Regions from separate parts of the Homo sapiens genome. Here region 1 is linked to region 2. The links are contacts of gene promoters, found by promoter capture Hi-C in human tissues and cell types (Jung and others, 2019). All regions are on one chromosome and are shown on one strand. Each heading gives the region's core, a stretch centred on a gene start or on the middle of the fragment in contact. The rest is flanking DNA. Distances are from core to core; before and after follow the strand shown.

Region 1 (3,264 bases), core at 484-2,983, 69 kb after region 2:
AGCTCAGGAGGCAGAGGTTGCAGCGAGTCAAGATCGCGCCACTGCACTCCAGCATGGGCGACACAGCAAGACTCCATCTCCAAAAAAAGTGGGGGGAGGGGCTCATAATTCTTCATACCTCACTTTTGCATATGTCCTAGAGACCTTGTTATACAAGTACACACAAATCTACCTCATTCTTTTATATGTGATTCCACAGTTTTAATTCATTCCGTTATTTACTCATTTACTTGATGACTTTTATTGAATACCTACTATATACCATGGAGCTATACAGCAGAGACATAGCAGTGAAGAAGATAAATGAGGCCCCTTCTGTCTGGTCCTTGTATCTTAGTGGGCAGTAGACAGAACAAACAAAACAAAAGCAAGCTTCGTTCAGATCATCACAGAACTGCTGTGTGAAGATCTGAATTGTGTACAGCTGAGAGTGATGAGAGGCAGGAAGGGCTGCTTGCATAGGGAGGTCATGGAGGGACTTCCTGACATTTGAGCTGAGACTTGAGAAGGAGCCAGCCACACAATAATATAGAGTGAGAGCATTCCTGGCAGAGGAAACAGCTCAGGCAAAGGCTCTAAGGGGGAACAAGGCTAGTGTGTCCCAGGCTTAGGGTGCCGGCCAGATGAGTACAGAGTAGACAATGTGGGGAGCTTGGTGGGAGGCAGACGCAGAAAGGCAGAGGCAGGCAGTGGTCAGATCAGGGAAGGGTTAATACGCAAATGTGTGGATTTTGTCCTAAGTGGAAACTCTGAAAAATTTCAAGCAAGGGAGTCACACAATGGCACCTTGGAATGGGGTGGTGGATGTGGCCATTGGAGAAGGTGGACAAGCTCAGAATGCATTCTGGCCGTAGAGCCAACCCAACAGGCTGAAGGATTGGATGTGGGAGGGAGTGAAAAGAAAGGAATAAAAATTGCAGGTGACTTCTACGGTTTTCACTTGAGCAATTGGGAGGGCAGTAAAGGTGGGTCCCTTTACGGAAATGGAAAGACTAAGAGAGCAGCAGTTTTGGGGTGGAATTGGGGAGAGGAAACAGGGACTCTGTTGGGCGTACAGATGCTCAAATAAAGATGACAAGCCCCCTATTGGCTGTATGAGTCAGGCGCTGGGGGAGGGACTGGAGCTGTAGGTGCACAATGCATGCCGATGTATCTGTGTGTCATACAAGGCCCCATGTATGACTGCGTGTGTATACACATGCACAGATGCACACATTGTTATGTCATCCCAGACCATGTTTTTGTATTTTTGTACCTGTATCTTGGTATATATCTGAGTATATCTTTTTTTTTTTTTTTTTTTTTTTTTTTTGAGACAGAGTCTTGCTCTGTTGCCCAGGCTGGAGTGCAGTGGTGTGATCTTGGCTCACTGCAACCTCTGTCTCCCGGGTTCAAGCGATTCTTCTGCCTCAGCCTCCCAAGTAGCTGGGACTACAGGCGTGCACCACCACACCCAGCTAATTTTTGTATTTTTAGTAGAGATGGGGTTTCACCGTGTTGGCCAGGCTGGTCTCGATCTCCTGACCTCGTGATCTGCCCACTTCAGCCTCCCAAAGTGCTGGGATTACAGGCGTGAGCCACCACGCCTGGCCTATCTGAGTATATCTTTAGGAGAAATTTCCAATAGTGGAGCATTAGTCAAAAGGTCCATGAATTGACTTTTTTTTAATAGATCTTGACAAATTTTCCTTCAAAAAGCTCTTGCCCACTGTCATGCCAAGCGTCAGGTTCCAGCCCATGTTGAGGTCTGAGGGGAGTGGGTGGATGGGTGGCGAATAGCGGAAGGAATATTTAGGGGGCTGTAGGCAGGTAAAATATGGTTTTATTCAGCAGCTTTTTCATCAGCAGTTTTTTTTATATACTTTAAGTTCTAGGGTACATGTGTACAATGTGCAGGTTTGTTACATAGGTATATATGTGCCATGTTGGTTTGCTGCACCCATCAGCTCGTCATTTACACTAGGTATTTCTCCTAATGCTATCCCTCCCCCAGCCCCCCACCCCTTGACAGGCCCCGGTGTGTGATGTTCCCCACCCTGTGTCCAAGTGTTCTCATTGTTCGATTCCTACCTATGAGTGAGAACATTCGGTGTTTGGTTTTCTGTCCTTGTGATAGTTTCATCAGAAGCTTTCTCATACAATTCACCTTTATCTCGGCTGCCTGCTCCAGCTTTGCGGCTCTTGCCATTCCCAGGCTTACAGCTGCATTCCCTGGCCTACAAGCCTGGCTCTCCCTTATGGGGTCAGCAGTTTTACTCTCTGCCTCTGGGCACAAGCCATGCCGAACCACATGTACAGCGTCAGCAGGGCAGTTATACCTTTTACAGACAATAGTGGCTCTGAGCCACTTACACAAACAGATTACATAACAAGTGGAGTTATGCGCCTGCGCGCCAGACTCCCTGAGTCACGCTGGCCCTGATGTTTGCCTCTGCCTGTTTTGTTTTTGTTTTTGTTTTTGTTTTTTGAGACGGAGTTTCGCTCTGTCGCCCAGGCTGGAGTGCAATGGTGCAATCTCGGCTTACTGTAACCTCCGCCTCCCAGGTTCAAGCGATTCTCCTGCCTCAGCCTCCCGAGCCACCACACCCAGCTATTTTTTTTTTTTTTTTGTATTTATAGTAGAGATGGGGTTTCACCATGTTGGCCAGGCTGGTCTCAAACACCTGACCTCTGGTGATCCACCCGCCTCAGCCTCCCAAAGTGTTAGGATTGCAGGCGTGAGCCACCGCACCTGGCTAACCTATTCTTGACCAAAGCACATCCATGTACCTTACACCCACTTACCTTCCCATCAAGAACACTCAACGATGTCCCTTTCCCTACACTCTCGCCAGTATTGGATATTTTCACACTCTATTTTCTTTTCAATCTGATAGAAGAAAATAATATCTTATAATTTTCAGAATTTGCATTCCTTTATTTGCCATTTTAGTTTTTTTCCTGTGAACTATCCATTTGCCCATTTTGCCATTGAGCTTTTAATCTATCTTACTGAGTTCCTCCGAGTGCTTTGTAAATTAAGAAAATAAGCTCTCTGTCAAATTGCCTGCAACATTTCCTTCATAGCTTGTCATTTTTTAAAAAACTTTCAAAGGTGTTTTCACCCAGTGATGTTTCATCTTTTTTCTGAGGTCAGATTTCTCAATCATTTGCTTTATAAAGTTTGAGTTTTCCTTAGGATGCTCCATTTCAAGAGTCTAATAAATTCACCCATTATTCTAAAACTTTTGTAAATTTCATTTTATATTTTCAGTTTATTCTAAA
Region 2 (3,262 bases), core at 195-2,694:
CCGCCAGCTCCGGCCGCTAAGCAAACATTCCCTCCAGGAGTCCGAGAAGCCGGTGTGCGAGGGGAGGAACCAGCCTGAGGTTTATCGCTCCAGCAACTCCGGGTGATTCATAGAGTTTAGACTCCCGGTTGTCGTAGACCGCGGCAGGCACGCAAACAAGCAGCCCGGGAGATACCCTCCCCTTTCCCAGCCCCCGCTCCTCCACCTTGCTACCCCCTAGCCCGTGACCAGCTGCCTCCCCTCCCCCTCGCGGGCGCTCAGGGTTGAGCAAACACTCCGGGCCGCCCGCCCCGCCACCAGCTGGCTCCGACCGGCGCACCGCTGGCGATCCCCCAGGCAATTCGGCGTCATGAGAACCGGCACCCCGAGACTCGGCGCCCTGCCCTCCCTCCGCGTCTCCAGGGCCCTGGCCAGGCCCAACAACCTCTCCCTCCTCTGTGCGCCTCAGCCCCTACGGGCCTCTGGCGCGGGCTAACTAGGCCTCGCTGCGGGCCCCCAGGACTGCGCACCCCACCCCCCGCGAGGCCAGCAGCCCCGGGGGAAGGCGGCCGGAAAATCTCTTGTTTATCGGGCTGGATAAGTACCAGCCTGGATTCGCTTCCCAATTTCTGCGGTCCAGCTTCAGCAGATTCCTGGGGCCGGAGGGGAAAGGGTGGCAACCCACAGATCCACCCCGGAACAGGGAGTGGGGGGTGGGGCTGGTGGGAACCTGACCTCCTGGAAAGGACGGACTCGGAGTCAGAGCCAACGTGTCCCGGAGCGCAGAGGCCCAGGGGGTCGCGCTAAACACTGTACCTCGGGGAACAAAACCGTGAAGGCTAATTAGGACAAGTCGGAGCAGGGAACGGGGACGCCGGGAGGGGAGAGCGCGCTCCGAGTTGGGCAGAACCTGGAACGGTCACAGGAAACCCGGGCGCGGGGTAGTCGGGCCGAGGGGGACCTTTGCCCACGGTCCAGAGTGGTCTGGACTCGGCCCACGCGTGAGAGGAGCGCTTGGTGACGATCCCACGTACGCTTGGTGACTGGTGGAGGTCCCAGAGAAGGACCGTGCGTGCAAAAGGCGAACCTCGGTGTGCGGTGTGTCCACGTGTGCAAGCTGGGGAGGGGAGGGGGCGCAGAAGGCGTGACAAAGACGGACTCTGTCTTGAGTGTGCGCCTCGCTCCGGCCCGCTCCCAGCGAACTGTGCCTGAAGTGTGTCTCACGGGAGGGCCAGGACGAAGGTGACAAAGGCTAGGTGTCCCCCACGGAGACGCGCCAAGGTAGCCCCGCGCGTGTCCGTAGGCGCGCTCTCTGGAAGACGCGGTGGGGGGTGCGCAGGGCTGCACCCTCACACCAATTGCCCCGGCGAAGGCCGAGCCCAGAAAGTGAGTGCGCGTGAGTGTGCGCGCGCCCGCATGCGGGGGCGTGGCAGTCAACAGCAACAACCCACACGCCGGCAGGGCCAGAAACTCCCATCTCCCTCACCAGCCGGAAAGTACGAGTCGGCTCAGCCTGGAGGTGAGTCGGGGCGGGGAGGGCCGGGCAGGCTTTGTTCCTGTGTAAACGGAGCGCACGTACCTGGAGCGCGGCGGGCGCCCGATTAGCGCCCTGAATGGAGGTGATGTAACGGTGATGCAGGCTCCAGCCCACCCTCGCCGAAAGCAAGGAGCCCTGCCTGGGGACAGGCCCGCGCGAGAGCGAGCAACCCAGCGCGCCTGGCTCAGCCTCGGTCCCAGGGAGAGGCAGGCCCTGCGTCCCGGCCCGGGCCCCGCCATCCCAGCCAGGACCGGGCCTGGCCCAGCGCCCCGCGCCGCGTCCCTCCCACCCCCGCCCGCCCCCCGCCTGGGGCTGGAGTTGGCCCCAAACGCTGCGCTGGAGCGGGGCCGGCGGCGAGTCCCAGGTAAGGGCTGCTGCCTTCCCGCTCCGCCGCCCGGAAGAGTCGGGTCGGGACGGCGGGGAGTGGGCGAGGGCAGAGGCGGGGGGACTGGACATCCTGCGGGCTGGGGACGCCGCGCCAACTCCGCTCGGTCGCTGAAAGTTTTCAAACCCGAGCCGGCTGGGGACTGGGGGGGTGGGGGAGCCCGGCGCTGCGGCTCGGGCTGGAGGGAGGGGAAACCACTCCATAATCGGGGTCTCCAAGAGGAGCCCCTCCACCGCCTGCCTCTCGGTGGGAGTCCGCGGTCACTCTCTCTCGTGGGTGGCGTCCTCTCTGCCGCCTGCTACTGTGGATGTGGAGGGCAGGTTTCTGTGGCCCTAAAAATGGGAGAGAGTGACTGGTTCCCTTGCTCCCCATTCCAGCCACCCAGGGAGCGCAGGTGTAGACCCCAGTACCGTCGACCCAAGTAGGGACGAGAGGGTTCAGAATCCCCCTGAGGGAAGTTTGGAAATTCAGACTATCAAAGCGCCTCCCCTTCTGGTAGCCTGGCCCCTAGATCCCGAACCCCCACTCCCGGCTGGCTTTTCCAGCGTCCTTTGCACCTCCATCCCCAGGCCCGCAGTGTTACACGCTGGAAGACCCAATCACTTACAAACTCCACGATCAAGATCCTAAAGCCCGGGAGAGGAGACTGTTGGAAGTAGGGTTTTGTGCTCCTGGAGCTTCCTCTCCCCGCCGGCCCCCCACCCCTGTGCCTTCAACTGGACTGGGGGAGGGAGTGCATTGGGGGGTGGGGCGCATTCCAGAGTGACATTCCAGAGCAGACCCTTGAAGATTTCCAAGTCTCAGAGAGCTCAGGGCATTTTGGCCCAAATGCCTGGTCTTGGTGCGGGGCAGGGGCAGGGGGATAGGGGTGGGGTGTCTAGGCTGAGGTTCGAGGAACCCCAACCCACCCCCCACCAACCTACACACTGAGGCCGCTCCTTCCAGGCACAGGCGTCTCCTGTGCGCCTTCTTATCGATGGGGTAAACGCCTGAGCGCCCTGCACAGAGGGGTGAGACAGTGGGACCTAACCAGGGACTGGGAGAGACCGATAGGAGTGGAGGCAGGAAGGCTGTCAGTCGGGCCATCGTCTTTCCCTATAGGCTCTTGAGTGTGTGGGATGGGAGGAAGGCAAGTGCTCTGTGGTATCCCTGGGGGAACCTCCCTGAAGAGTGCCCTGGTCACAGCACCCTTGAAGACAGCCATTGGCCATGGGTCAGTGTTGAGTTTGGTTGGCCCTGTGACGCGCTGGAGCTCTCTTTCCAGTGCGGTATCCTTGGCCCTGGTGGGTGGAGGGGGTCTCAGGCTTGTGTGTGGATGATGCTGGAGCGAGGAAGGGAGTTTTGCTCTGGAGAAGTGAGAA

Evidence for each region. The method cuts DNA at HindIII sites, captures the fragments that hold promoters and counts their contacts. A contact is called where the count stands out against the background at its distance.
Region 1: a fragment that was not itself captured here is called in contact with the fragment with the promoter of GPRC5C in region 2 in 2 of the 25 tissues and cell types used here (lymphoblastoid cells and spleen).

Annotation. Positions count from the first base shown.
Region 1 is chr17:74,499,559-74,502,822 of GRCh38, forward strand. No RefSeq gene overlaps it. Among named protein-coding and RNA genes, the nearest start is that of CD300LB, 30 kb to the right of the region's middle. The HindIII fragment of the contact is 5,799 bases long and covers 1-3,264 here.
Region 2 is chr17:74,430,644-74,433,905 of GRCh38, forward strand. It overlaps GPRC5C (G protein-coupled receptor class C group 5 member C), which reads left to right and starts at 1,445. Exons shown (of 4, transcript NM_022036.4): 1 at 1,445-1,498. RefSeq lists a silencer at 318-457. The HindIII fragment of the contact is 9,677 bases long and covers 1-1,888 here.